Regions from separate parts of the Homo sapiens genome. Here regions 1, 2 and 4 are each linked to region 3. Evidence: promoter capture Hi-C in 16 types of primary human blood cells and fetal thymus (Javierre and others, 2016). All regions are on one chromosome and are shown on one strand. Each heading gives the region's core, a stretch centred on a gene start or on the middle of the fragment in contact. The rest is flanking DNA. Distances are from core to core; before and after follow the strand shown.

The links. The method cuts DNA at HindIII sites, captures the fragments that hold promoters and counts their contacts. A CHiCAGO score of 5 or more calls a contact.
Region 1: a contact is called between a fragment that was not itself captured here and the fragment with the promoter of C11orf71 in region 3, in 4 of 17 cell types (activated CD4 T cells, non-activated CD4 T cells, total CD8 T cells and 1 more). The highest score is 9.2, in activated CD4 T cells.
Region 2: a contact is called between a fragment that was not itself captured here and the fragment with the promoter of C11orf71 in region 3, in 1 of 17 cell types (activated CD4 T cells). The highest score is 6.2, in activated CD4 T cells.
Region 4: a fragment that was not itself captured here is called in contact with the fragment with the promoter of C11orf71 in region 3 in 1 of 17 cell types (fetal thymus); the score reaches 7.2 in fetal thymus.

What each region holds. Positions count from the first base shown.
Region 1 is chr11:112,224,212-112,229,771 of GRCh38, forward strand. PTS (6-pyruvoyltetrahydropterin synthase) reads left to right here and starts at 2,217. Exons shown (of 6, transcript NM_000317.3): 1 at 2,217-2,315; 2 at 4,383-4,462. The coding sequence starts at 2,233. RefSeq lists silencers at 2,088-2,497, 2,855-3,149. The HindIII fragment of the contact is 1,163 bases long and covers 3,697-4,859 here.
Region 2 is chr11:112,287,886-112,293,512 of GRCh38, forward strand. The region is part of intron 1 of LINC02762 (long intergenic non-protein coding RNA 2762); the gene reads left to right. Among named protein-coding and RNA genes, the nearest start is that of LINC02762, 20 kb to the left of the region's middle. RefSeq lists a silencer at 2,185-2,494 and an enhancer at 2,291-3,039. The HindIII fragment of the contact is 5,561 bases long and covers 424-5,627 here.
Region 3 is chr11:114,399,250-114,404,929 of GRCh38, forward strand. C11orf71 (chromosome 11 open reading frame 71) reads right to left here and starts at 1,262. Exons shown (of 1, transcript NM_001271562.2): 1 at 1-1,262. The coding sequence starts at 1,082. The coding sequence ends at 711. It overlaps RBM7 (RNA binding motif protein 7), which reads left to right and starts at 1,417. Exons shown (of 5, transcript NM_001286045.2): 1 at 1,417-1,518; 2 at 2,449-2,611; 3 at 3,579-3,666. The coding sequence starts at 1,423. RefSeq lists enhancers at 504-1,046, 760-1,149, 1,047-1,589. The HindIII fragment of the contact is 8,162 bases long and covers 1-4,985 here.
Region 4 is chr11:112,074,126-112,079,940 of GRCh38, forward strand. It overlaps NKAPD1 (NKAP domain containing 1), which reads left to right and starts at 174. Exons shown (of 6, transcript NM_018195.4): 1 at 174-791; 2 at 1,442-1,518; 3 at 4,090-4,190. The coding sequence starts at 1,450. RefSeq lists enhancers at 1-26, 437-556, 617-666. The HindIII fragment of the contact is 765 bases long and covers 869-1,633 here.

The DNA of each region.
Region 1 (5,560 bases), core at 3,028-5,527, 2.2 Mb before region 3:
TATGTGTTTAGGGGTGTCTGTATTCACACTATGCCAACCCAGAGTAATAAATGGGTCCATACATGCTTGTGGATAAGAATGGCTTTAGAATTTCCCTTAGTAAGGATCATTACACAACAGTCCAAAGGACTGTTGTCACGTGGTCCTATTTGTGCTCTCAAATTCTTGCTCTTTAAAAATTTTTTTTTAAAGAAACGGTATTAATCCTAAGCAAAAAGAACAAAGCTGGAGGCATCACGCTACCTGACTTCGAACTATACTACAAGCCTACAGTAACAAAAACAGCATGGTATGGGTACCAAAACAGATATATACACCAATGGAACACAACAGAGGCCTCAGAAATAACACCACACATCTACAACCATCTGATCTTAGACAAACCTGATAAAAACAAGAAATGGGGAAAGGATTCCCTATTAAATAAATGGTGCTGGGAAAACTGGCTAGCCATATGTAGAAAGCTGAAACTGGATCCCTTCCTTACACCTTACACAAAAATTAACTCAAGATGGATTAAAGACTTAAATATCAGACCGAAAACCATAAAAACCCTAGAAGAAAGCCTAGGCAATGCCATTCAGGACATAGGCATGGGCAAGGACTTCATGACTACAACACCAAAAGCAATGGCAACAAAAGCCAAAATAGACAAAAGGGATCTAATTAAACTAAAGAGCTTCTGTACGGCAAAAGAATCTACCATCAGAGTGAACAGGCAACCTACAGAATGGGAGAAAATTTTTGCAATCTACCCATCTGACAAAGGGCTAATATCCAGAATCTACAAAGAACTTAAACAAATTTATAAGAAAAAAAATCAAACAACCCCATCAAAAAGTGGGCAAAGCATATGAACAGACACTTCTCAAAAGAAGACATTTCTGCAGCCAACAGACACATGAAAAAATGCTCATCATCACTGGCCATCAGAGAAATGCCAATCAAAACCACAATGAGATACCATTTCACACCAGTTAGAATGGCGATCATTAAAAAGTTGGGAAACAACAGATGTTGGAGAGGATGTGGAGAAATAGGAATGCTTTTACACTGTTGGTGGGAGTGTAAATGAGTTCAACCATTGTGGAAGACAGTGTGACGATTCCTCAAGGATCTAGAACTAGAAATATCATTTGACCCAGCCATCCCATTACTGGGTATATACCCAAAGGATTATAAATCATGCTACTTTAAAGACACATGCACCTGTATGTTTATTGTGGCACTATTCACAATTGCAAAGACTTGGAACCAACCCAAATGTCCATTAATGATAGACTGGATTAAGAAAATGTGGCACATGTACACCATGGAATATTATGCAGCCATAAAAACGATGAATTCATGTCCTTTGCAGGGACATGGATGAAGCTGGAAACCATCATTCTCAGCAAACTATCACAAGGACAGAAAACCAAACACTGCATGTTCTCACCCATAGGTGGGAATCAAACAATGAGAACACATGGACACAGGGTGGGGAACATCACACACCGGTGCCTGTCAGGGAGTAGGGGGCTGGGGGAGGGATAGCATTAGGAGAAATACCTAATGTAAATGACGAGTTGATGGGTGCAGCAAACCAACATAACACATGAATACCTATGTAACAAACCTGCACGTTGTGCACATGTACCCTAGAACTTAAAGTATAATAATAATTAAAAAGAAAAAAGAAAAAGAGAAACGAGGGTCTTGCTCTATTGCCCAGGTTGGACTCCTGGGCTGAAGTGATCCCTCTCCTTCTCAATAGCTGGGGCTACAGGAGTGCGTCACCACGCCCGCCTGGCTCAATTCCTGCTCCTTTTGGTCTATAAAGCGGACTGTGGCCCTGGGGTTCATCCGATTGAGTCACCAGTCACTGGAGCTTTACAGGAGAGAGTGGGAGAGGAGGCTCAGAGAGGTCACTCAGGACCCAAAGTGTGCCCAGACGGGCCCTAACTACGTGGCGTGACCTCAGGCGGGGCAAACAGATCAAGGACACAGGGTCCCCACCCACCCTGACCACTCCAGGGTATGCTTAGGTATCCCAAATCTTGCTCTCCGAAGAGATTCAGATAGCGAGAGACACCCTTAACTGTCTCCCGAGGCCGGGATTGGCCAGAGCGGAAGCGGAGACGCACTTCCTAGGGGCGCGTCTGGCACGCACTGCGCAGCCGCGGTGGGAGGAGGCACCGGCCGCGCGGCGGGAGGAGGTGCCGGCCGAGCACCGCAGACAGCGCCGGGAAGATGAGCACGGAAGGTGGTGGCCGTCGCTGCCAGGCACAAGTGTCCCGCCGCATCTCCTTCAGCGCGAGCCACCGATTGTACAGGTAGGGTGTGCACACAGGTACAGCGGCGGGCGGTGGGCGCCGGGCCCCGGAACGTCACCGGGGCGGGGCCGGCGGGCGTGCTGACGTCGGGCCCGGGAGGGGCGCGGGGGCTGCTGGGGCGACGCGCGCTGGTCGGCTTCGTGGGGCTTCGGACGGCCTCCAGCATCCTGATGGGGGCTGGAGTGTCCCCAGCCCTGGAGGGGTGGGGGAGCTTGATGGTTAACGGAGCCGACTGCGGAGGGCGATGGCCCACGTCTGGGTGCGGGGCCCACACCCGGTTCTGCGACTCGAAGAAACGTCTCTGCCCCTAGGAGTCCCTTGGTGTAGACCACAGGGTTGCTGTGAAACTCAGCAGTGTTAAACTCGCCTATGTTACACAGTACCTGGCGCGGCGTAGACACTCAGTAAATGTTAGCTAATCTTGTATGCCAGGAGCATTGGCCACCATATCTAATGTAATTACAAGGCAAATTTTAGCCCCTTTTTTACCAAAGACTGGATGAACCCAGTCCCTGGTGGTCTAGTGGCTAGGAGAAAAAAAAAAAAAAATGAGCCCAGACGTTCAGTTTCCGAAGCAGCATAGTTGGGATTTGAATCCCGATCATACATACTGCTTGCATGCACTGACGAGTTGATTTTGAGGAATTTTACCACGCACTAACCAGCTCCACCCTCTGGCCCTCCGTATCGTCGTCTGTGAAATGAGGATGACCATCGCTATCTAACAGGATTCATCCCTCCATTCGCTAAACCAGGTTTTGTTTCGTGCTTGTCAGGGCTTGTGCTAGGTAACGGATGCATCAGGGATCTTGTATGGGGTTTCCAATCTGGCCTATTTTGTGGAGGGTACACTGAGAAAATTTTGTGCAAAAGACTTTAGCACTCTAAATACAAGAAGTGGCTGAGCAGGAGAAAGTGGGGGTGTGTTATTCCATTTTGCATTGCCACAAAGGAATACTGAGACTGGTATTTTATAAAGAAAAGAGGTTTATTTGGTTCTGCAGGCTGTACAAGAAGCATGGCACCAGCATCTGCTTCTGTTGAGGCCTCAGGGACCTTCCACTCATGGTGGAAGGCGAAGGGCGAGCAAGCAGGCAACTCACAGGGCAAGTGAGGGAGCAAGAGAGAGGAGAGGAGGTGCCAGGCTTTTTTTAACAACCAGCTCGCCCATTGACTAATAGAGCGAGAACTCACTCATTGCTTCAGGGAGGGCACCAAGCCATTCATAAGGGATCCACTTCCATGAGCCAAACATCTCCCACTAGGCCCCATCTCCAACACTGGGGATCACATTTCAACATGACAATTGGAGGGGACAAACATCCAAACTACATTGGGGGGAATAATAAAGAGGATCTCAAAAAAAAGGGGTTGTATAATAAGCTTAAACACCTGAGGGTGGTAAGGTCTCATAGACGATGCGAAATTGAATGGATGGGTATAAGTATAAACATTAAGCAATTTGTTTTCTGTCTGAGACGACAGCCAAAGATTGTAATTTTAAAAATTCACCTGCTTGGAATATTCCTCAACAGATTGGTAAAGTTCTCATGAGGCAGTAGTTGAGACATAGTATAAAGCAAGATTGCTAAATAGGAGACTTACCAGGTCATGTAATTTTTTTAAATTATTTTTTCTGGATGAGTAGTTTAGCTTCTGAGAGAAATGAGATAGTAAGCCACTTTGCGGATCACCATCTATGTTTATCATTATATGCTGTTATTTCATTCAGCACTTGCCTGTTACATTGTAGGCACTCAGTAATGTTGAATTGAAAAGTGGAAGGCCCATGAGCAGATCAGTTGCTGTGGAACAAGGGGGTTGAAGTTAAGGTTTGTTTGTGCTAATTTGTATGGTACAATCTTCTAATTAGGGAATATGCCATGGTTTGTGACGTATACGTAAGTAATAAAATCAACATGATTTCTGACTCTCCCTTTGGTGAGCTAAAGTAATAAATTGGGAAACTTTTCAAAGATCAGTACAAATAATAAATATAAGGAACAGAGAAGGGGGTTTGAATGTGATACTTGTGTCATGCTGACTTTTTTTTTTTTTTTTGGTCAGTAAATTTCTAAGTGATGAAGAAAACTTGAAACTGTTTGGGAAATGCAACAATCCAAATGGCCATGGGCACAATTATAAAGGTGAGAGAAAAACTGATGACATTTCAGCCCTTCAATAAGGATGAAAGAGTATTCAGCAAATGTAGACATAAAGAATGGGAAAACTTACGGACACAGTGTGAATGCTTTGAGCCTTGAATGAGAAATTAAATGGGAGTTCAGAATGAAAGGATCTGTTGTCTTGGTTGGGTGTGTGTTAAGTTTTACCTTGCAATGTCAACTCTTACAAACAGTCCAAAACAATGAATGGTTTAAAGCATTTTTCTTTGTCCTAGAGTACACAACAAGTTTCTTTCTGATTAGGTATGGCCAAGGCTAATGTTAAAATTAGATTTTATTCTTTGAGTAAATAATGACTGACAAAAGGGGAATGTTGCCTAGGAATGTAATGTATGGCAGAAAAATAGGTTTGGTCTAAAGCTTTGCCAGCAGTGTTCGAAGAAAGTAGGTAATTTGTTCAAGGATAAGAGACTTGATTCTTTGAGGTACAGCCTGCCTTAAAAAACAGGTACATAAGTCGTAGAGTATAAAACAGTATGTGGTGTGGTGGCATAAAAAAAAACAGACAAGGTGTCAGGAGATTAGGATTACTGGTTTAGCTACAGCCTCTTCCTTAATCTATGGTATCTCAGTCTCAGTGTACTCACTTACATGTAATATCTAATGGTATTTGTACAGAACTAAAATACATAAATTCATAAAAGTTATTAATGTGTAAAGCACTGATAAAGTTTTTTTTTGTTGTTGTTGTTTTTTTTTTTGAGATGGAGTTCCACTCTTTTTGCCCAGGCTGGAATGGTGTGATCTCCCGTCACTACAACCTCCACCTCCCAGGTTCGAGCGATTCTCCAGCCTCAGCCTCCCGAGTAGCTGAGATTACAGGCGCCCGCCACTATGCCTGGCTAATTTTTGTATTTTTAGTAGAGATGGGGTTTCACCATGTTGGCCAGGCTGCTCTCAAACTCCAGACCTCAGGTGATCTGCCCGCCTCGGCCTCCCGAAGTGCTGGGATTACAGGCTTGAGCCACCACGCCTGGCCAAGATTTTTCAAATGCTTCTCACAAGCACTTTTTAATTTACAAAGCATTACTTTAGACTTTGTATACATTCATGTGAGTA
Region 2 (5,627 bases), core at 1,954-4,453, 2.1 Mb before region 3:
TGAAACTCCGTCTTAAAAAAAAATGTATTGTGTGTATCGAAGGTATCCAACATGATGTTAATGTGATTTTATGAAAAGCAGCCTTTGCAGTCAAGTAGACATGAACTTGAATCTTAGCTCTGCCACTTCAGCTGTGCAGCTTTGAACACTTAACTTCTTTCAATGTGAGTTTCTCATCTATTAAATGGGGTTAATCATGTCTATTTGTATCTATTTCCAAAGAGTGTTGTGAAGATCCAAGGGGATAGCACGTGTAAAGCACATTCTTCTTACCTTTTATCTCCCTGAGCTGAGTGTAGAGGCTGCAGTCATTCATTGAACAATTGTTTATTGTCTACTTATTGCTAACCATTGTTGCGGGTTCTGCGGAAACAGTAATGAACAAAAGTCTCTGTTCTCATCAAGTTCACATTCTGGTGGGGAAGCTTGAAAATAAGTAAGTAAACTAAGCAGGATAACTTCAGATAGTGATAAAAGCTATACAGAAAAGGAAACAGGCCCATAGGATAGAAGTGATTTGGTGGGAGGCCTGAAGAGGCTTTAGGGAGCACAGTGGTCTTTGAACCAAGACCTGGAGGCCAAGAAGGAGCTGGGCCTGCGGAGACCTGAGGAAGAGCATTCCAGGCAGAGAGAAGAGCAAGGGCACAAAGTGCTGAGGTGGGAAAGCATTTGGCAAGAAAGAAGATGCTTGCAGGAGGAGCACTGTGAACCCTGGGGAGTGTGGGATGAGGAGAGGAGCAGGAGTGAGTTCCATGCATGTTCCCAAACTCTGTGCTGAGGTGTTCTTGGAGCTGCTGTGGATTCAGAGGGGCTCTTTGAGATATTTTAAAGGCCAAAGGCAACACTCAACTTTTGTTGGGCTCCATGCAAACTACTAAGTAGTGCAGGATAGCTTGAAGACTCAATATTAGATTGCCCTACAGTTTTTTTTTTTTTTCCTTGAGATGGTGTCTCACTCTGTTGCCCAGGCTGGAGTGCAGTGGTGTGATCTTGGCTCACTGCAACCTCCGCCTCCCAGGTTTAAGAGATTCTCCTGCCTCAGCCTCCTGAGTAGCTGAGAATACAGGCACATGCCACCACGCCCAGCTAATTTTTGTATTTTTAGTAGAGATGGGGTTTCTCTACTACTACCATGTTGGTTGAGCTGGTCTCGAACTCCTGACCTCAAGTGATTCACCTGCCTTGGCCTTTCAAAGTGCTGGGATTACAGGTGTGAGCCACCACGCCTAGCCTGCCCTACATGTTTTTTGATAAAACCATATTTTTCTGAAGCTACATTTTCAGTTTTTGTCATTTGCTGTGACATAAAACACGTACCATGGGAAAATCAATATAGAATAGGAAATGAGGGCGGCAGCGTCTAATCCAATTCCAAGGTCTGAGAAGTTGCGCAGTGCTCAACAAGCACACACATCCCGTTAGTGAGAAGTTGTGGCTAAGAATGAGATAAGTTTTTTTTTCTAGTTTATATGCAATATTTTTTCTAGTGGCTACTAGTTGTTAGGACAGAAATACTTCTTACTTGGGTCTAGCTACTTAATACACAGAACAGTCAGGTATTTCTTTAGGCCTAGGGTTACTGTGAAAAAAAGCATTGAGACATTAAGGGCATGATAAACAGACAAGGTTAGAAACTCCCGGGCTAGGTGATGAGCTGTCATGAAATCTTTCTCATTTCAAGCGCACAACTTCATATTGTTGCCTTTTCATAGACCCAGGGGTGTGTGTTTCTGTGCATTTGTGGATAACCTGAAAACGTCGTCTAGATTTTGTAACTGGGAGGGTCCCCAACCTGCCTGACCATTAGGATCACCTGGGGGAACTTTGCAAAAATAGTTCCCTGGCCTCTGCCCAGGGGATTCTAATTCAGTGGGTCTGACATTTGAATCTGAGTTCAAAGATCTCTGCTCCAACTCGCATTCTTTCAGGCAGCCAGGATGGCCCAAGTGGAGCCGGCCTGCCCAGATTTGGGGGTCCTAGTTGTTATACGTTGTGCCTGGGGCCAGGCTGTGTGGCTTTTTCGGATCCCCAAGACTGGGAAGGGGCGTGGAGCACGTGTCCGTTGGAACCCTGGGGGAGGTCGGTGCTGGAAGCGCTCATCTCCACCTCCAGTCTGGGTGCGCTGCGTGAGTGACCCGAAAGGAAGATGATTCTTGCCGTAGGAAGCCCCTGCCAGGACAGTCACCACCTCCCAGGCCCAGTGGACTCGGACCCGAGCGTCCTCCGGGAGGGTTTCTGGGGCGTGGCGGCTGAGCGCGGTTCGGGGAGACGCGGCCGGGAGGTGGCAGCAGCGGCCCTCTGGCAGACACGGTGCGTGCCGGGGGGCGGGGACGCGGGCGGCTCCGGGCGGGCGTGGTCCCTCTTGCGGGCGCCTGGGCTGGTCGGGCGGATCCCGGAGAGGGGGAGCCGCGGGGACGCAGCGACAGACTCGGGGTGCTGGCAGCGGCAGCCCACGCCTCCCAGGGATTGCAGGCCTGGGCGCCGGGGTTGGACCAGTCTCCCGGGCATGGCACGCCCTGGTTATTCTGTACCCGTGATTTGTGGCGGGGCAAGACGTTAAGTTGGGTGACACCGAGGTGAGCCACGGTCCTCGGCACCAGATGAGGAACCACTGTCTCAATAAGGTGTGACATGGAAAATGTGTGTGTCTTATGTGTGACTGAAAAATACCTCCTTTGCTGACGTCTAAAATTTCACTATTAGAGATGCATTCTTTTGTCCTAAAGATTATTCTCTATTCAAGGCCCTGGGAGGGAGCAGTGCATTAGAACTTGAACTCTTTAGGGTGAGAATGATTTAATCTTATCTTTGTCGGCGAGGGAAGGGTTAGCCCTCAGTGCTCAAGACACAAAGAGGACTGAAGGCGCATTAATTGGTACTTGCTAATCAAGCCTTAGAGACCAGAGCACTCCAGGGGAATTTTACTTTGGAGAGAAATCTCATTGGCCCTGGAGCAGCCCTGTATCCACTTTGTGAATGTTTTAGAGAGGGTTAATGGGGTACTAGCACAGTGTGATTAGTTCAGTTCATTGGATTATCATTTTGTAAAAGAGGCAGCATCTTTACTAGTACTCTAATAAATTATAAAATTATTATATCCATTTCTGTTCCTTGTACCTTCTTTCTTTGAATTAAGAAAATGGTGTGGTAAGGTACAGTGAACTTTTGAGCCAGAAATTCCTGGCTTGGAGACCCCTCTCTGCCATCTGTTGACTGGCTCTGTAATTCTGGAAAACACCCTTTCTAAACTTCAGTTTTCTCATCTGTAAAATGGGAAAAATGCTGCCTACTTGGATGGTGATTGTGAGCATTAAATTAAATTCTGGAGGGAAAATATCTGGTATTTGTGTACTGATTTCAGGTCTCAGTGCTGTGTGTGTAATGGTTACCGTGAGAGCTTCCCTGCAATCCGAATTTGTGTGTCTCATTCTCAGTGACACCAGTGATGCTGTTAAACAAGGACAATCCGGTTCATGGATTGTGACAACGCACGCTGACATCAAGCAGACCCTGCCGTCAGGTACAGAGGGCACCACAGTGACCAGGAACTGCTGTCCTTTCATACCAGGTTTTAGGAGGCTTTACCAGAAGGAATGGAAAATGCTGGTGGGCAGTAAGATTGAAACAGCATCTGAGGACTGGTTCTGCACAAAACCTTAAATTCTTCAAGGACTTTGACATTTGTTTATTCTTGTAACAAATTAAAACCTATCCTGTGTGTTGGTTAGAGATCTTCAAACTGTAAATACCTTGAGGCAGGAGTGAGGTTTTTATCTTTTAAAGGACAGGCCCCTACTCTCCTACGTAATGAGTTTCTAAAAATGGATGTGAGCACCAATCAATATTTCTCTGGTTGTTAAAGTCAAGAATAAAATGGTATTTTTAAGCTCGCAACTGTGTAGGATGAATTCTGTACACTTTTATTTCCCTCTGTTCTCCTTTCCTATTTGAAAGTTTATTAGTTTGTGGACTTGGGATCGGATTATTCATGCATTATTTTTTGATGTTGTATGTCTCTTGGTTCTTGGGTATTTTTGACACATATTCTGTCTTGTAACCATAGTTAAACAATTGTTTTAGACCAACTCTCTGTGTGTAATTGGCTTCAACACTCACTGCTAGTCCTTTGACGCTCTGTTTTTTTCCATTCTTGAGTAATTTTAAGTCATCACTTGGGCAGTTGAAATATATTTTAAAGTGATTTAAAGAATATGTGAGTGGCAGACATTCTGAACTCTTTTGGTTGTCTGTCCTCAAAAACTAAAACTTATTTGTGAGTAAAATTTTCATCTAAGTGTTTTCCATATAAAAACTCTGTCAGCTACTGCTCCATTGTAGTAGACACAAAAAAGTCAGCACAATTTTCATCCCTCCCTCCCTCCCTTCTCTTCCCCTTCCCCTTCTTGCCCTCCTTCCTTCCTTCCTTCTTTCCTTCCTTCCTTCCTTCCTTCCTTCCTTCCTTCCTTCCTTCCTTTTTCTTTTGTTTCTGAATGTACAAAGAAAACACTTAAAAATTTGCTTGTAATTTAAAAACTTGTCAGGATATTTCTGGATTTGAGTGTTTCTTGGTTACTTTTACCTGGAACCTGGTGAACTGAGTCCATTCCTCTGTTTGCCCTTTCTGTACTTTTTTGGAAAGTTTTCTTTAATTATATCTTCAATTATTGTTTCTCTTTTGATTGTTCTAGATTCTTCTTCAGAAACATAACTCTTAGGCTCAATCTCTATTCCTGGTCTTCCATAGCTATCGTCTTCTTTTTAAAGTACTGTATTTTATTGAATCTAAGCTAGTATTTGTTGTAAGAAGCACTATTATTATATGTACAACTAAGGAAGAAAAAATGCTGCCAATTAAACTGTGACATAATGCCATGATTACAGTCCTGTGAAATTGGTAAGTTGCTCACACCATTCTCTCTCTTATTTTGATAGACTTCATCTATTTTGAGGGACTTGGCAGTTGCTCCTGCCTTTGGTTGCATTGTTTGGCATGTGACAGGCAATTCTTTTTGCATGAGTCTCAGTTACAAAACATAACACAGTTTCTACTTAAGGATACCTTCTTTTCTTGGGTCCTGTCAAGCACTTAGTTTAAAAAAAAAAAAAGAATTGCAGTGGTTGGTCCAATAATAGACATTTGCTTCAGTAATATCAAATTACATCCTGCTGCTTGAATTCCATGCCTTTCTGCATACATAATAACTTCTCATTTCAATGCCAAACCATAGTGTAATCTTTTAAAAGACATTTTAAATGGCAATTAAACTCACATGTAATTGCAACAATGTATACAACTCAATTAAAGTGCTAACAACATGAACAACTGAGACCAAGTTCACCCATGCCCAGGTCTTGATGACCTCACCATGGCAGCTCCCTGGCCCAGGGTGATTATAAGATGCCAGTGATTGCAAGACTTGGCCTGATTTCAGAAGTGATGATGTGGCAACACAGACATCTTAGAATTAAGGAAATAGTTTTAATTCTTGGTGCTCTTTCTTGGCATTCTGAAAGTGTTCCTCCAGTTTGCCATCTAAGATATTCCTTAGTTTTCTGCCATGTCCATTTCACTCATTTACTCCTTCCTATATGACTTTTAATTATTGTTTAATAATTTAATTTTCTTG
Region 3 (5,680 bases), core at 12-2,511:
AACAAACACACATTTCAAGGAGGGCACTACAGTGAGTAGATGAACAGTTTTCTGATAGGAGATTGTACAAGTAATGTTTTCACCAGTGTATTTTAGGACAGCAGATTCAGATTAATGCGCTGGGACTGAATGCAAATAGTAAAATTACAAATATAAAGTAAAAATTTGGAACCTTTGCCAAAGAAAGGAATAATAAATTGATTTAATAATTTGAAAGAACTGTAAGGTTTAGGTTTTGTTCTTATTTTTAGTGCGACTGAGATTGGAGTCTGTTTGTAGACATATCTGAAAAAAGTGAAGGGGGAGATGGAAGATGGTAAATGCCAAGGAAAAGATGGAAGGATAAATCAGTGTAATAAAAAGGAGCACTTCTTTTTCGCCAACAGAAGTAAAGGTAAAGGTTAAGTGTCTGAGTTAACGAATGGATTGTTGACCTCTGGGGAGGGTGCTCCCATCAGCTCAGCTTTGTGACGACCTAAGAATATCCCTTCCACACCTTTCCTGATCCAATCGTTCTGGCTGCATAAAACCACCTAAATCAATCAACTGTTACACTTCCCTTAGTGCTAGGACATATTCATATAACTCCCACGTATTAAATGAAAATACATCCATCTAAAAATAAAACAACACGATTGCTGCTACACCAAGAAAGGATTTTAAAAAGGCCTGTTCACAAGCTAAGTGAGGGCCAGAGGAAAGGTGTTCGTTTAAACTGAAATTCGAGCTGCGATAACACCTCCTAATGCAATCAAACGCTGTTGCAGCACACTTCTTAGGAGATCGGGTTCAACGGCAGGGATTGGGTAAGGTGAGAATCTGGCTTGGCGGCTCCGGCCCCGGCCATCTGGTTCCCTTGGGCTCCGGCCGCCACCATCCACTCGACGGCTCTCGGCCCGAACGCTTGGTCGCACCGCCTGCCGAGGTCCTAGATGAATCGCTTCAGGCCTGGAAACGAGGAAGCCGTCTCCGGAGACCATCGCCAACGCTGACGCCCGCGGTCTGAGGTCGCCATGGGAAGAGCGGTAGGCCACCCTGCTCCTCTGATCACCGGAGGACAGGGACACATTGTTCAGGGCCATATTCAAACACTGCCCGCAGTACTTGCGTTACGTCCCTTTGTGAAGGCAGGCCCTTCGCGGCTCCCCAGATCAGTCCAGCCTGTGTCGGACCCGATGACTAAGCACACAGGAACCCATAACTGAGCCTGCGGAAGAGCCAGAAGCCGCCTTGCCTTTAACGAGGGGTATCCTGGCGAGCATGCGCAGACCGTCCGCGCACGTCGTCGCCCGCTGAGAGCAAGCGCAACGGGCGTTTTCGTTTGTGACGCCAGGGAGCGTGAGGACGTGGGGCTTCCGTGAATGCGCAGTGGGTGCGTCGGCCACGACCTTTTGGCCAGGTTAGGGAGGGGGCGACGCTGAGATGGGGGCGGCGGCGGCGGAAGCGGATCGCACTCTCTTTGTGGGCAACCTTGAAACGAAAGTGACCGAGGAGCTCCTTTTCGAGCTTTTCCACCAGGTAAGCGGCTGGGTTCGGCCCTTTGCCTTTCGTTTTCCGTCTCGCCTAGGGCCTGGCCAGCGGCCACCCCGTTTTCTTTTCGTAGCCGTCAGGGGACCCGACGGGTGGCTGTTTGGGGGTGAAAGGCGGGTCTGGGTTGCGAAACGCTCGCTGGGTGTCGCTTTCCTGGAAGATCTTGGTTCGTTTAGGCCGAAAGTGACGACTAAAGGTGGTGGAGGGATCCTCGATCAGGTTTCCCGTGGTAGAGATCCAGGGGTCCTTGGGAACACAGTGTGTGTGTAGGGTCTTCGTTGAGCAGTGCTTTTTCTTATCCTTCCTGTTGTCATCTTCCCCTTAGGATAATTTGTCTTTGGTTTATCTGACTGGGAACTTAATATTTTAATTTATTTGTGTCTGTTTTCCCCTAAAGTTTGCTTATCAAATTGCAGCATTATTAAAATATGTAAAATAAAATGGTTAAGTACTCCGTAGAAAAACAGCATTTTAGTGTTGCTGTATTAAAAAGTGTGAAAAATTCTGAGTATCCTATTCCCCCCATCCCTATCCCCTAATAACTGGTATTGTTTGATTAATCAATACAAAAGTCCGTTTTTAGTTAAAGAAAATCATTCTCTTGTTCTTGATAAATGTTCATTTTCATGGAGTGGCAAAATAATGGCGATTGGTCACTATGTTAAGCCATACAGTGCTGTGAATTGCAAAAGTGATTGTGTTTCCAGTTCCTTATGGGCCCCCTTCCCCAAATAAATCTAATGTTCAGTCATAACTAGGATGTTTACTGTAGCCAAAATGGAAATCCGTGCATCATTTTCAAAAGAAGTTTCTGATTACGTTTCTGTTGTTTTTAAACTTTGTCATATCTTATTTGTAAAATTTGAGTATTTTCCCTTAGTTGCTTTATTTAAATTCTAAACACCTTTTTGTTTGTAGGCTGGGCCAGTAATAAAGGTGAAAATTCCAAAAGATAAGGATGGTAAACCAAAGCAGTTTGCGTTTGTGAATTTCAAACATGAAGTGTCTGTTCCTTATGCAATGAATCTACTTAATGGAATCAAACTTTATGGAAGGCCTATCAAAATTCAATTTAGATCAGGTAACTGCCCAATGAGGTTCGGGGGGCATTGTTTCCTGCTGTTTTTAAATTTATTATTCAGTTTTAAAGAACCTCTTATTTGTAGATGAAACTTCTTTCTTAAGCATTGTGAATAGTAAACTTTATATAGCAAACTTTATATATCCCTGAAAACGGGTAACATTGACACATGGATTTTGAAATTAGAATTTCAAAACTGAGCTTAAAGTTTCATTTTGGGTTAGTGAAAAAACATAAACTGTATCACTAAGAGAGCTGGGCTTGGGTACTCTGAAAAGAGCTAGGTTTATTTTCTGAAAATACTTCTCCTGGCTGCTTTGTAATTACTTTTATATATTTTGGTTCTTGATCATGTGAGGATGAAACTGTCCATGTATCCAGTGTTACAATTTAGGGTGGAGATCAGAAAATTATGGTCAGATTGGATATTTATGGAGTGCTTTGTTTTGCTTATCTGATATTATACACTTATAATTTTCACCCCGATGAAGCCGTAAAGCGGTCTACAGCAGCTTGAGATTCTTTTTTTTTTTTTTTTTTTTTTTTTTTTTTTTTTTTTTTGAGATGGAGTCTTGCCCTGTTGCCTAGGCTGGAGTGCAGTGGTGCAATTTCAGCTCACTGCAACCTCTGCCTCCCAGGTTCAAGTGATTCTCCTGCCTTAGCCTCCTGAGTAGCTGGGATTACAGGTGCACGCCACCACGCCTGGCTAATTCTTTGTATTTTTAGTAGAGGTGGGGTTTCACCATGTTGGTCAGGCTGGTCTCGAACTCCTGGCCTCGAGAGATGTGCCCACGTCAGCCTCCCAAAGTGCTGGGATTACAGGCGTCAGCCACCGCGCCCGGCCAGTAGTTTGAGATTTTTCTCTTTTAGATTGTGTTTACCTTTTTGGAGTGATTTCAAGTGGGGAAGACAAAATTTCAAATTAGATTTTCTATCAAGAATAATTTTTCAAATTGTTTCATTTTAGGAAGTAGTCATGCCCCACAAGATGTCAGTTTGTCATATCCCCAACATCATGTTGGAAATTCAAGCCCTACCTCCACATCTCCTAGCAGGTAATATTTCTCACTTATTGTTAAGATCATTTATCAGGAATTCTTATAGGGAATAGCCTCAAAACACATGAGTAAATAGTCTCCTTCATTATTCTCTTATCTCTTCATTCTGCCGTTATTACTTGCCTTTTGGGGTTGTTGTTATGTATCTATTCTAAGGGGTATAGAATGTGTCTATTCTATAGACAAACACATTGTATATAGTCCCCTTAGAATAGATACGTATATAACTATTTGTTGATTTGTAGCGACATAACCATACCCACATATGTGTACAGTACATGTATACACTTGAAACAAAATTTCTCAAAACATTATTTACCCTCACTACTTGGATTACTATTTCATTTAAAACATTTTAAAATTTATTTTACAGTCATTAATTGGTTGTTACTTACAGTTGAAAAATACCAGTTAGTCAACAGTCTATTGGACTAAGAATTCCTAGAATTGGATTCTAGGTCTGCATCTATCAATTGTGTAATCTTGAGCTAGTCTCCTTTCTTTAGTCCCGTCTTCCCATGTGTAAGGAAAATAAGTTGAATTAAATGATTTGTAAAATCTCTTCAGGTACTGAGTATTAGAAAATATCATATTTACTTAAATGATTTTATTTGCTTTGGGGAGGTTCATATTTTACCAGGGACAATTTTTCCCGGTATATCCATAAAGCTATTTAACAGTCATTTAAGAAAGATTTAATAAATACCTGCCATATGTCAGGTTCTTCACCATATCTTTTACATATATGATTTCATTTATTCCTCACAGCAGTTTTATGAGGGTAGGGATTATTTTTATCTCTACCTCTTATATGAAGGGAAATGAAAAATGGAGGTTAACTTGCTCAGGTTCAGTGGGCTGGGATTCAAACCCAGGCAGTGTAGTGTGATTGAGCCCAGCCACTATGATGTATTATCTAGAGGAGCTTAAAGTCTAAATGAAGACACATATTATATATATTTTTGTGAATACCTGTTCAATTACTGTAATAAGTTCTCTAAAGAAAGAGTACAAAGGGCTTTGAGAAAATTTTAAGAGAAGGAGATGATATAGATGAATGTGGAACTGAAAGAAGCCAGTGTACCTAGATCATAATGAATGAAAATGGAGAGCAGTAGGGGATTTTGGTAGATAGGCTGGAGAGGGTCTTTTAAACTATAATCAGGATTTTGAGATTTTACCCTAAAATGGAGTAGGAAGGCAGTGAAATGTTTTAGGTAGGGTACTGATAGGAACAAGTTTATATTTTAAGAGTTGTTTGGTTGCAGTGGGAGAATGGATTGGAGGGGGCAAGAGTGAAAATAGAGCAGTGAGGAAGCTTTTGGTAGCAAGGCATTGATGTTGGAAGCTATTGATGGATGAGGTTGATAGTTTAGATTAAGGTGGTGCCATGAGCTGGAGAGAAGTGGATGGATATGAAGAGATACTAGAAAGTGGAATAGTGAGCCAGCAATAGTGCAAAAAGTGTACCCTCCCGGTGTTCTTTCTTGCCAGCTGAAATTAATTAACAGTGTTTAAACATTTCTTGGTAAAGTTGGCATTTAAAGCACTTCCAGCCCCTTTAATGGAGTCTTCAAAGGCATCCTAGGTAGAGGAAAATAAAAAGTTTTCCCTCTTAGAATTTCTTGGGGAGAAAAAACCAGGTGCAGTGACCCATTCGTATAGTCCCAGCTACTTGGAAGGCTGTGGTGGGAGGACCACTTGAGGCCTTGAGTTTGGGACTAGCCTAGGCAACATAACAAGGCACTCTCTCTATTTAAAGAATTTCTTTGAAAAAAAAAAAGTACAAGTAAATACTTTGGTTTTAATCAAAGGCTAGAGAGTTTATAATTTTTATACTATAAACTAAATTGTACTGCCCCCCTCAGCATACAGATAATATAACCTGATTTGAAAAAACGCAAAATTAAAAGATCCAAAGTGTAAGACCAGCCAATTGGCTATTTGATTCTAAAGACATTTAAAAATAATTTAAAACATTTTTAAAGTGAGCTTTTCTGTAGAGCAAGTT
Region 4 (5,815 bases), core at 1-2,500, 2.3 Mb before region 3:
GCTTTTCAGTTGGGCCTGACCCACTTCTCTTCCAGGAAAGCGCCCGCCTTCCTTCTGCACCCGTCAACCTCTGGAGTGTCCTGAAAACCCTCCCTTGTGGGAGTCTCTGGGCTGCCTGTTGGTGGGACGATTTCTCAGGAGCACGACTTCCGGCCTGAAAAGGAAGTCTCCTCCTTTTTCTCCCAAACCACTTCTTCCCCCCTACCCCCCGCCACGCGAGGCTGCGGCGCACGGTATGGGTGTGTTTGTGTGTATTTGTGTGGGGAGGGCGTTTGGAGGGAAGGTTACCGGGAGCTCCGAGGCCGCTGGGGAACAGGGATCCCGGTGACAAAGATGGGGATATTTCCTCTGTCTTCCACTTGGAAACCTCAACCCCCGCTTCAGGCTCCCTAGATACTTTCTGGGGCCCAACCGAAGGCCGTAGCCATCCAAAGCGTTCCCAGCCTTTCTGGGGAGTGAAACTTACCCCCGGGGTTCGTCCTAGAGGAGCGTGAGCGGGGAATGCCCAGGTCAACCGGGCTGTCCGAATTCCGCCCCGGCTCAGCCTCCGGCCTCAGTCCGGGAGAGAGATCTGCCTGTCGGTCTGGGCTGGGGGAAACGCGGCAGTGGCCTGGGCCACAGGTGAGGGCAGAGTAACCAGTGGGAAGGCTGCGTTTTCACGAAGGACTCGGGTGAAGCTGCAGAGCTGCCTTTGAGCCCTGACTCCTTGGCTTCCTGGGTCGGAGGAGATCTTGTAATGGAGTGGTTCTTCGTCTCACTAGCAAGATGCCTGATTTCCTCAGGATCAAGGGGTGAGTGAGCGTTGGGGTGGTTGCACAAAGCTCCTGCTAGCTACACACGAAAATATTCTTGTCATCTAGTTTTTGGAAGCTTCCGTAGCAAGTAGGAAATAAAATGCCCCCAAATGGAGAAATTTAGGACATCTTTGCATTTGATGTTTTGAGTAATCAGTTTCTGTTACTGTTGACACCCGTGGTTCCTGACACTCTCAAATCTACGTATTTGCTTCAGTGCAAACTATATTGGGATTGGAGGTTTGATTTTTAATTTAGACAGTGACATACATCATTTGCCTGGGACTATGTGGCTTGGGACGTTACAGCTTTAAGGGAACTTCATCTACAAAATAGGGATGGAGATACTTGCCTCATATAAAAAGTAGTTATGAGGATTAAATAAAATGGTGCTCATGAAAGCACTTAATTTTATGTAGTCTTGTGCATTTTCAAAGAACTTTAATGTACATTATCTCCTTTCATCTCACATTAGTGTGTTTAGGCATTTCCCTCTTTTAATGGTAAAGGGAAAACTATTCTTTAGAATCTCTGACTTCTAGTTCAGTGATCTTTCCTGTACCTCATATGCTTCTTTATAAAACTTCAAGAAAAGATAAAGTAATAACAGAAATTATTACTAAACGTTATTTGTTGATTCATTTCAGATTGAAGAATGTCCCGGATTCCACTGGGGAAGGTCCTCCTGAGGAATGTCATCCGGCACACAGATGCTCACAATAAGGTGGGAGGTACAACCTAGTTACTCCTCAACGCTTACTGAAGGCAAGCAGTGTGCCAAGCATTATTTTGGAACAACTGGGAGATACAAAGAATATTCTTGTCATCTAGTTTTTGGAAGCTTCCGTACACAGTAGGAAATAAAATGATGAATAAAATAGATAATTATAATACAGTTTGATAAGTACTGTATAACAGAGATATTTGCAAAGTGCTTTGGAGCACTAAGGAGGAAATAATAAAATCTACACTGGGGAATTAGAAAAGATTTTACAGAATTAGTGGTATTTCAGCTGCTGATCTTTGAACTGGTTCTTGAATAGGTATACGTTTACCAGGTATGAAATATCATTCTGGATAGACAGCATCATGCATTAATATGGCAACGAGAAAGAGCATTAATCACTTGGGGCATGGCAAGAAATTTATCCAGAAAGCAGGGAAGGTAGGGGATAGTGGCAGAAGATAAGGCCTCAGTGGTAATTAGAGTTGGATTGTGATGTTTGGAGCTGAGACTTCTTCCTCTAGGCAATAAAGAAGCCATCAAATGTTTTTAAACAGGGTGTGGCATGATCATAGTTATATTTTAGAAAGATGGTTTGTCAGCTGGGTAGGGAATGAATCAGATGGGGAGATACAGAAGGGAGAGTAATTAGGAGGCAATTGCAGTATTACAGGTGAGAGATGATGAGGGTTCGCATGAAATTAGTGACAGCAGGGATGAAGAAGAGGAATTTAGGAGATAGAATCCAAAGAAGTTGGTGGCTAATTAGATTATAATGATAAGAATGGAATCTAATTCAGTTGACCCTTGAACAATGCAGGGGCTAGGGGCATCAACCCCCTGCATAGTCGAAAATCCATGTATAACTTTTTACTCCCTCAAAATGTAAGTGCCAATAGCCTACTACTGACTGAAAGCCATAGCGATACCATAAACAGTGGATTAACACATATTTTTTATGTTACATGTATTATATACTGTATTCTTATAGTAAAGTAGCTAGAGAAAACAACATTTCATTAAGAAAATCACATTGAGTAGGCTGAGGAGGAAGAAGAGGGACTTGTTTTGCTATCTTACAGGTGGCAGAGGTGGAAGAAAATCTGAGGATAAGTGGACCTGCACAGTTGAGATTCCTGTTGTTCAAGGTCAACTGTGTAACCACCTATGTGACTGGGTAGATGATGACAATTCTGTTAATTGAGATAAAGAACAAAAAATGGGACAATTATGATAGGAAAGGTAATTAGTTTGGTTTTCAACATGTTGATGGTGAGGTGCTTATAGGATGTCCAAGCAGTTGAAAATTCAGACTTGGAGTAGAGGAGAAAAGTTGGGGCTGGACATAAAGGTTTCGGGATTATTGATGTATAGGTTGATGATAAGAGGTCATGAGAGTAGATGAGGTCACCTAGGAGAGCACATATAATGAAAAGAGGGCCAAGGCCCCTGGTTTAGTTTTCTTCAGTAAACTGTACTACTTTTGGTTTGATCATATTATTATTATCATATCACCTGATTTTTAAAATTATGGGCGAGGGTAAAACTGTTACCCGAGCTGCCTATGCAATTATGTTAACCTGCCCCTAGTTATATAGTAAGCTTAGATTTAAAATGGTAGCTAGAAAAAGATAAATCTAGCACAGATCTAATGAAATTATGCAGGAAGACTTAGAAATAAAATGTGTTCTTTGGGTAATCACATTCTGCTTTTCAAGAAATTCCCTAGCAGCCATACTGATTATTTTATTTTATTTTATTTTTGACAAAAATTATAATATTACCAGAAGAGATTTAGCTTAGGGAGTTTAAAGACCTGTCCTTACTAGTTTTTTGACTTTGTTAAAATCTCTGAGCTTTTGTTTCTTTACAGTAAAATGTAATAATGGTAGCTGCTATATTTTCCTCATGAGATTGCTTAAGGTTCAATTGAGATGATATAATTAAAATCATATTGCATTTTGGAAATGTGGCATTATCATTTGCTAATCGCAGCATAATTGCAAGATTGATAAGGTGATGTTTGTCTGTGCAGCGGTTTAAAAATTCTATTGGGGAAGATTTCCACATATTTGAGATTTACTGGATTGGACTGTTCAGCCACTTTCTAGAGAAACCAATTTGTTTTCCAGGTTCCTGATCATAGCCCAGTCTGTAGCCCAATAATTAGTCAGATTGTATTTTCAGTTAGTTGCTTTTTTTTTTTTTTCTTTTTTTGTTGATACAGAGTCTCACTCCATCGCCCAGGCTGGAGTGCAGTGGTGCAATCTCGGCTCACTGCAACCTCTGCCTCCAGGGTTCAAGCGATTCTCCTGCCTCAGCCTCCTGAGTAGCTGGGATTACAGGTGCATGCTACCACGCCCGGCTAATTTTTGTATTTTTATTAGAGACGGGGTTTCACCATGTTGGTCAGGCTGGTGTCAAACTCTTGACCTCATGATCTGCCTGCTTTGGCCTCCCAAAGTGCTGGGATTACAGGTGTGAGCCACTGTGCCCGGCCAGTTAGTTACTTTTCTGTAATGTAAAGTTATTTTTAGTAACTTATTTTTATTTCCTTTTTAAAAATTCTAGATTCAGGAGGAATCAGATATGTGGAAAATAAGAGAACTGGAAAAACAGATGGAAGATGCTTACCGGGGGACCAAAAGGAAAATGCTACCCAGCAGTTCAAGGTGAAGTTGCAGCTCTGAGAACTAAAATAATTCTCATCTTTTTCAGAATCATCAACTTTTGTTTAAAAATACTTTGGTATATTAAGGATAAATTCAGTTCTGTGAGTCCTTAAGCCTTCCTTCTTTCGTAAATCTAGACCCAGGCATAAAGATAATGGCTGTGACGCATATGGCCCTGCTCTTTGTACTTATTTACAATGGAGAGTTAAAAAATTCTACCTGAACAATTATGAATGTGTAGGGTTCTGTGGATTCTAACCTTACCTGATAGCTTTTAACTGAAGATTTTATACTGGAATCTTGTGGTCACTAAGCTGATCAGTCATTCTATTCTCTATTAATCTTTCATTCTTTCAGGCTTTTCTTTTTGTAGCTGGAACTGCAGGTGCATGCCACTATGCCTAGCTACTTTTTTTTTGTAGAGGTGGTGTCTTGCTGTGTTCCCCAGGCTGGTATAGAATCCTGGGCTCACGCAGTCCTCCCACCTCAACCTCCCAGTGTTGGGATTATAAGCATGAGCCACTTGCCTGGCCTCAGACTTTTCTTCACCCTGTCTATTCACCCTCTTCACCAGATCAACAGCCTTTTCACATTACCTTAATAGCTTGAGTGTAAATATGAAGGATTATGCAGGCTTAGTTATCTTCCTTGTGGAGAGGCCTAGGAATGCTTGAATAATTGGGAAGATCCTTACACGCTTGTAAGTGTAAGAGCTACATATATAAGAAATACTTAAACTCTTTAGGAGCAGGGCTTGTGATTTTCTCATTTGCTGCTATATTCCTGCCAGCTAGACCAGTACCTGGTACATAGGAGGCCCTTACAATTTTTTTTTTTTTTTTTTTTTGAGATGGAGTTTCGCTTTTGTTACCCAGGCTGGAGTGCAATGGTGTGGTCTTGGCTCACTGCAACCTCCGCCTCCTGGATTCAGCCAATTCTTCTGCCTCAGCCTCCCAATCAGCTGGGATTACAGGCACCTGCCACCACGCCTGGCTAATTTTTGTATTTTTAGTAGAGACAGGGTTTCACCATGTTGGCCAGGCTGGTCTTGAACTCCTGAGCTCAAAGTGATCCACCCACCTCGGCCTCCCAAAGTGCTGGGATTACAGGCGTGAGCCACTGGACCTGGCCCCTTAAAAATTTTTGATAACCGATTAGCAGCTTACTGGCTAGTTAGTAGAAATGGTAAACAGAAGCTGGATCAGTGGTTCTCAACTTTTTTCCTACTCCAGTATTCCCATGGGTTAGACCTTGTTCCCACTGTTATTGGGACCTCTCTATAGTAAGTTGCTGGTTTGCACAGAGGGAAGTGTATTTCAGAATCTCTAGGGTAGTTTGAAGTGTCCCTTGCTATGATTATGTTCTGCTTCCCTCTTTGCATGCCCTCCTAGTTGAGAATCAGCGAGTGAACTATCACATGACATAGTCCAGAGTTGATTTCATCTCTCTATGCTTTGCAATAGGATGGGTACTAATGGTCAGATTTTTTTCTTTTTTTCTTTTTTTTTTTTCCTGAGACGGAGTCTCACTCTGTTGCCCAGGCTGGAGTACAATGGCATGATCTGGGCTCACTGCAACCTCTGCCTCCCCGGGTTCAGGCAATTTTCCTGCCTCAGCCTTCCAAG